Linked DNA regions of Homo sapiens: region 1 is linked to region 2. Evidence: promoter capture Hi-C in human tissues and cell types (Jung and others, 2019). All regions are on one chromosome and are shown on one strand. The core of a region is centred on a gene start or on the middle of the fragment in contact, and the rest is flanking DNA. Distances in the headings are between cores, read along the strand shown. Region 1 overlaps ZNF789 (zinc finger protein 789). Region 2 holds the start of ZSCAN21 (zinc finger and SCAN domain containing 21).

Region 1 (3,396 bases), core at 112-2,611, 570 kb before region 2:
CCTCAGCCTCCCAAAGTGCTGGGAATCCAGGTGTGAGCCACCGCGCCCAGCCTAGAAGAGACTGAGTTTGAAAGAAAGGAGAGGACCAGTGGCTCATGCCTGGAATCCCAGCACTTTGGGAGGCTGAGGGGGGTGGATTGCCTGAGGTCAGGAGTTTGAGACCAGCCTGGCCAACATATAGTGAAACTCCATCTCTACTAAAAATACAAAAATTAGCTGGGTATAGTGGCGCATGCCTATAATCCCATCTACTTGGGAAGCTGAGGCAGGAGAATTGCTTGAACCGAGGAGGTGGAGGTTGCAGTGAGCCGAGATCGCGCCATTGCACTCTAGCCTGGGCAACAAGAGCGAAACTGTCTCAAAAAACAAAAACGAAAACAAAAACCCAAACAAACAAAAAATGGAACTTTTAAGCAACATTTGGTGCCCATCTGTCAATGTACAAGTCCTAGCTGTTGATGGGTTCTTGGAAACTGCAACTTTAAGGGAAACTATGTATATCAAAACCGTTTTTTTTCCATCAGTGTTACAGTGAAACAAAGTTATTCAAGGACCTGCTGCTGTACATACTTTTGCTAAAAATCAGTTTCCAAGAACCTATTGTGGATGTTAGGAGAGGAGTTACCATGCCACAATGACTCTGGGAGATGAAGCCATTTTATTCCCATGCTTGTTAACCTTGTGCAGGTGCGGGAATGCAGATGGCTGAGTAGGTCAGATTGAGGACATGGCAGCGCAGCTCTGGTAAAAGAGTGACACTCTGGATAATGGTGAGAAAGGGCCTGCAACCGTAGCAGTGGAACTCAGGTTTGATAGGCAGGAAAGAAAGTCCGTATAATTTGGGAGGTTCTGGTGCCTGCCTGCAGAGGGGAGCTACGTGAAGCTTCTCAGGATGGTCTCAGGATGGGGGTGGGCATTTCCTGTTACTGACCACTTATAGGACAGCGAACGTTTGCCCTTTCCCTGCACACATCCCCTCTGAACCCATGCAGTGTCTTGTGAGAGCAAGGAGTGTGTAGACAGCCGCTGGGCCCCTTTGCCCAGAGGGCTGCAGTGGTGTGGGAGGGAGAGTGTGGCAGCTTCAGTGCTCAGCCCACTGGAGGGGGCAGTCACTTGCAGATGTAATGTCCCCTGTGCTCACTGTGCTGTGTCCACTGTTGCCCACTCTGGATATGCTCCCCAGGCGTCTGCGCCTTGGTCTGTACCTTTTATATTCTCCAGCAACGGGCTCCCCTGGTCTCTGGCATCTGCTTGGCTTGTGGCAATGGGATGAAGAGGGTTGGAGGACAGGGGACAGGGCGCCGGAGGCCTGGGGAAAACTGAGGTTGGGTTTCTCTTCCCACGGCTCCCTCCCCACTGGGCTGTGGGATGGGTGTGGCTGCATCCTGTTCAGCCGCAGCTGGTCTTGCTCCCCTTCCAGCAGCCTTCTGGGCTCCAGCAGCCCTCCCCACCTTACCCCTTCAGACCTAGCAGGCCCTGGTTCCCCAGGGTGGCCAGGACCTGCGAGCTTCCACATTTCTTGTTCATGTTCATTGAGACTATTCATCCCTTTGTAAATAGTCTGCACATTAACCAACCCCCCAGTGACCTCATCTCTTTCCTAAGGAACCTGGGGCAGAAGCAATAGGTTATTTTTATAGAGCAGCGGTCAGCAAACTGCCCTGGACCGCTTGGTAAAGTTTCCCTGAAACACAGCTGTGCCCATTCGCTTACTTGTCCACGGCTGCTTTTGTGCTCCAACACAAAGGCTGTTCCTCAGATTGTTGATTTGCTGTTCCTCTAATCAACAGCAGATTTGAGGAACTGGAACAGAGACCAGAGGGCCTGAAAAGCCTAAAATATTTACCATCTGGCCCTTTAGAGATTAATTGTGTCGACCCCGTGGTATGGAAGCCAGCACATGTCTGGCCTGAGGGCCATCAGGCCTGAAAGGAGCCCTGAATATATTCCTTATGAATTGGGTGCCCTTGGCCCACACTCTACCTCCCAAACCTTGGTTTCCTCAGCTGTGGAATAATCATTGAGCGTAAGTTATTTTAAGAATTGCAGTTACCTTTATCAGCTACTTTTCCAGGAGCTGCTCTCGTTTGAGGATGTGGCGATGTACTTCACCAGAGAGGAGTGGGGCCACCTCAACTGGGGTCAGAAGGACCTCTACCGAGATGTGATGTTGGAGAACTACAGGAACATGGTCTTGCTGGGTAGGACACGGCTTGAAGATTGGGCTTTGTCTGTGTTCTGAGTGTCTGTGCAAGCCCTTAGTCCCTTATCTGCAATTCCAGAATCAGAAAAAGCGGTGAAAACCGAAAGGTTTTTTTATAACTCGTGTGGCTACAAGCCCTGACCAGACATCACCACAGTGAAACCTGACTTCATCCTATAGGAAACCATTTATTGTCTTTATTTTTCCAACTTGGTGTGCATATCTGTATACCCAACTTCAGAAATAACAGTGTAGGCCAGGTGCGGTGGCTCACACCTGTAATCCCAGCACTTTGGGATTCCGAGGCGGGTGGATCACATGAGGTCAGTAGTTTGAGACCAGCCTGGCCAATATGGTGAAACCCAGCTCTACTTAAGATGCGAAAATTAGCCTGGTGTGGTGGTGCACGCTTGTAGTCCCAGTTACTTGGGAGGCTGAGGCAGGAGAATCGCTTGAACCCGGGAGGCAGAGGTTGCATTGAGCCGAGATCATGCCGCTGCATTCCAGCCTGGGTGACAGAGCGAGACTCCGTCTCAAAACAAAACAAAACAACAACAAAAATAACAGTGTATTTGAGGGCACCACTCCAAACCCTACTGGGGATGATACGTTATGTAAAATATTTACACCAGGTCACCTTTCTGAAATGGGAAAAATTCTGACTCCTGAAACACATCTGGTCCTAAGGGTTTCACATAAGGGACTGGGGACAGTGAATAGTCGTGTTGTGTTAGGGCTCAGACCGAGACACTTCATGCATTCTTCACTCTCACCTCGTGTTCCTCATCTGTAAGACCTCCAGGAGTTGAGAATTATGGTAGATTTACATTCCAAAGGCTCACTTCTTATGCTCTTGAAAGTCTTTTTCTTTCTTTTCTCTGGAAATGGGTAACTTCTTGGTGTGTAACATTAGTGGGTGCTCAGGAAATGATTTTCAACCAACTTCATTTCTGAACCTTCACTGCTTCCATTCTTTTCAGGAGCCTACCCTGTCCTAGTCCACTGTAGTCTCCCACTGTGGGAGTTGCCTTGCTAAATAGTTTTCTTTCCGGGGTCACATGTTTAACCCTTGCACTGACACTCTTAGCACAGAGTCTTGACCACCTCTGTGGGACTGTCCACCCACCTCTGGATTTTTATAATTTTAATTTTCCCTTTAAAAGCATTACAGGAGCATACATAAGTACATGGAA
Region 2 (3,696 bases), core at 894-3,393:
TGTCTTTAAACATAAAAAATTTTTAAATTATCCTGGAAAATGTCAGGGAAAAATGATATTGAGTATCTATGAATTCATGACGCGTATGGACAGGGAATTCCACGTGCAGGCAGCCATATTGGTGTTCCTCAACACATGTGAGTTTTGCAGGACCAGACAAAAGCAAACTCACAGGGGGCCCGATGGAGTAGTGCTGAGGTGGAAAATACAGACTCTTCAGTCTGGAAACCTGCAGCTGAGCCAGAGCAGCAGGAGGAAAAGGCAGGCAAAGACATCTTCATCGAGTCCTGCAGCATTGGAAGGAGTTCAGCCCCTAGGTCTTCTGCTCAGGAAGTTTAGGACCCACAGAAGGGCAAGGCTACTTCTGATTGATGTCACCATGACCCTGGTCTGCAAAGTTGAGGACTAAACTCTGACTGTTTTCTTCTTTTGCCCAAATTACTATCTAAGGGGCCTGGAGAGTCACCCCCTTCAAACCATAAAGCCTCATCAGACAGGTTTTATTTAACTTTATATAACCTGGCTGACTTTTCAACCAGGCTCTGGCATAACATCACATGGCAGATAAAGAAGGAAACGAAAATATTTCCACCCCAAATATGTTTTTTTGCCATATCTTGAAATAACCCTACCAAGCTGTCTTCTCGTGGGGAAAATCTACACTTGGTAGAGAATCCCCTTCCCTTTCCAGGCCTTTTTCCTGATCCAGGAGAGAATCAACTGGGCGTCTGGCACTTTTTAAAGTCTGATAAGAAATATTTGCAGTCTGTTCTTTCTGAAGCCGGCTGCCTGGAGGCTCCATCTGCATAATGGGAACCCTGGTCTCCACAACCCCTTAGTTCAGCGGTCCCCAACCTTTTTTGGCACCAGGAACCAGTTTTGTGGAAGACAGTTTTTTCCATGGATGGCAGGAGGGGGATGGATGGTTTCGTGGTTTCAGGATGATTCAAGCACATTACATTTATTGTGTACTTTATTTCTATTATTATTACATTGTAATATATCATGAAATAATTGTACAACTCATCATAACATAGAATTAGTGGGAGCCCTGAGTTTGTTTTCCTGTAATTAGAGGGTTCCATTGGGGAATTATGGGAGACAGCGACAGATCATCAGGTATTAGATTCTCATAAAGAGTGCACAACCTAGATCCCTCGCATGCACTGTCCACAATAGGGTTTGTGCTCCTGTAAGAATCTAATGCTATGGCTGATCTGACAGGAGGCGGAGCTCAGGCAGTAATTAGAGCAATGGGGAGTGGCTGTAGATACAGGTGAAGCTTTGCTCCTGCAGCTCACCTCCTGCAGTAACGGCCCAGTTCCTAACAGGCCATGGACTGGTATCTGTCTGTGCCCCAAGGGTTGGGGACCCCTGCCTTAGTCATCCCAGACATTCCTTTCTATTGATTATAGGTCTTTAGACAATAACTTTCAGCCAGTTGCCCATTAGAAGATCCTTGAGTTCACCTATGACTTGGAACATCCCCGCTTGGAATTGTCCTGCCTTTCCCACAGAACCAATGTTCATCTTACATGTCTTGATTGGTGTCTTATGTCTCCCTAAATTGTATAAACCCAAGCTGTAGCCCGACCATCATAGGTACATGTTCTTAGGACCTCTTGAGACTGTACCTTGGGCCATTGGTCACTCATATTTGTCTCAAAATAAATGTCTTCAAATATTTTACAGTTTGATTGTTTTCATCAACGAAGTATTAACTCAATCTCTGGCTTCACGGGCCAAGCACAGCGTTCCATGTCCATAAACCTGGACCGAGGAGCTGGGCCCAAGGGTATCCAGTGACCTCGATCCAGGTTTATGGACAAGGAACCCTGTGCTTATCCCAAGGGTACTCAGGGACCTTGGGCTCTGAAGTCCACGAGGGTGACCGAGGTGGCTGCCTCAGCCCATGCCCTCCCTGCCCCAGGGCGTCGGGGTTGGGTGAGAGAACCGCCGCAGCCTTCATCTGGTCTGACCGTCTTCGGTAAAAACAGAAAGAGTCCCTGGCTTTTCATTTTCGGGGTGGACTCAACTCCTCCCTGATGTCCCAAGGGCCAGAGACACAGAGAGGACCTCCCGAATTTCTAGAGGGGCCGCTACGGCCCCGCACTACTTTTCCGCGGGGGCGGGGCTATGACGCACTTCCGGGTGCGCGGTCCCGAGGTACGCGGTGCGGTCTCCCGGTACCCGGAGCGGCTCTGATTCATGGTGAGCCTGCTGGTCGCGGGTTAGCGAGGCGGACAGGAGAGGGAGCCGTGGCTGAATGGTCTGGGGAGGGAGGAGTGGGTTTAGCAGCTGTGGCTTCCGAGGACCCCACCTAGACCGGTCCTAGCAGGGCTGTGGGGAGGAGCTCCTCGTCCCCGCCCAGGACCAGCTGGTGGGGGCGCTGGCTGCCTGGAAAGCCTTTTCTTCCACTTGGGGCTTTAACAAATGAAAGCTGGAAGAACAGATGTTTTGGAAGTTCTTTCGCGTTCCAGAATAGTTTTTTTTGTGCGTTCCCCAAGCCAAGCCGTCTATCAGTCTGACCGTGGCCGCCTTTTTTCCCTTTCTCTGAACTGGAGGTCCGAACGCAAGGCTCATTGATGGCAATACGCCCAAGGTGTTGGAAACCTGTGGGAAGCCGAACCTCATTAGAAGTGTTGGGTAGAATCAAATCCAAGGGAAGAAATAGTCCCCTCGGGCTTTGTTCGGGCTAGAACACACACACAGAATAGGGATCTGCTCATGGTTTAGAAAAACAGTCTTAAAGAACCATGTATAAATAAAAGAGTGTCAGGACAAAGTTGATTTGGGCCAGGCGCGGTGGCTCACGCCTGTAATCCCAGCAGTTCGGGAGGCCGAGGCCGGCGGATCACTTGAGGTCAGGAGTTCGAGACCAGCCTGGCCAAACCCTGTCCCCACGAAAAATACAAAAATTAGCTGGGTGTGGTGGAGCGCGCCTGTAATCCCAGCTACTCAGGAGGCTGAGGCAGGAGAATCGCTTGAACCCACCAGGTGGAGGTTGCACTGAACCGAGATCACGCCACTGCACTCCAGCCTGGGCGACAGAGCAACACTTGGTCTCACAAAAAAAAAGAACGTTGATTTGATGGGTGAGGTACTTGGAAACCCACGAAATCTAAGGAACAGTTGAGCTGTGGAGAGGAAAAGAATTAAGAGGCAAGATAATTGTTTTCAAGTGTTGGAAGGCTGCTATGGAGAAAGTGAGTATTGGTCTTGGACTAACCTAGGATTTTTGAAATGATGCGGAATTTGATTCAGGTTAAAGAATTTGTGTGGCCGGGCGCGGTGGCTCATGCCTGTAATCCAGCACTTTGGGAGGCCGAGGCGAGTGCATCACCTGAGGTCGGGAGTTCGAGACCAGCCTGACCAACATGGAGAAACCCCGTCTCTACTACAAATACAAAATTAGGCGGGCGTGGTGGCACATGCCTGTAAGGAGGCTGAGGCAGGAGAATCGCTTGAACCTGGGAGGCAGAGGTTGCGGTGAGCCGAGATCGCGCCATTGCACTCCAGCCTGGGAAACAAGAGTGAAACTACGTCTCAAAAAAAAAAAAAAAAAAAAAAAAAGGAAGAACTTGTAACAATTAGTGGAATTCTGTGGCTCAAGAATTATCTAATTTGGCTGCCTAGGGATCTAGGGATTTTCTTTTTTTTTTTTTTTTTTTTTTTTTTTTTGAGATGGAGTCTCGC

The links. Contacts are between HindIII fragments. The study calls those that stand out against the background at their distance.
Region 1: a contact is called between a fragment that was not itself captured here and the fragment with the promoter of ZSCAN21 in region 2, in 2 of the 25 tissues and cell types used here (adrenal gland and dorsolateral prefrontal cortex).

What each region holds. Positions count from the first base shown.
Region 1 is chr7:99,477,587-99,480,982 of GRCh38, forward strand. ZNF789 (zinc finger protein 789) reads left to right here. Exons shown (of 5, transcript NM_213603.3): 3 at 2,075-2,201. Among named protein-coding and RNA genes, the nearest start is that of ZNF789, 6.4 kb to the left of the region's middle. The HindIII fragment of the contact is 8,015 bases long and covers 1-3,396 here.
Region 2 is chr7:100,047,631-100,051,326 of GRCh38, forward strand. ZSCAN21 (zinc finger and SCAN domain containing 21) reads left to right here and starts at 2,144. Exons shown (of 4, transcript NM_145914.3): 1 at 2,144-2,211. RefSeq lists an enhancer at 2,046-2,665. The HindIII fragment of the contact is 16,971 bases long and covers 1-3,696 here.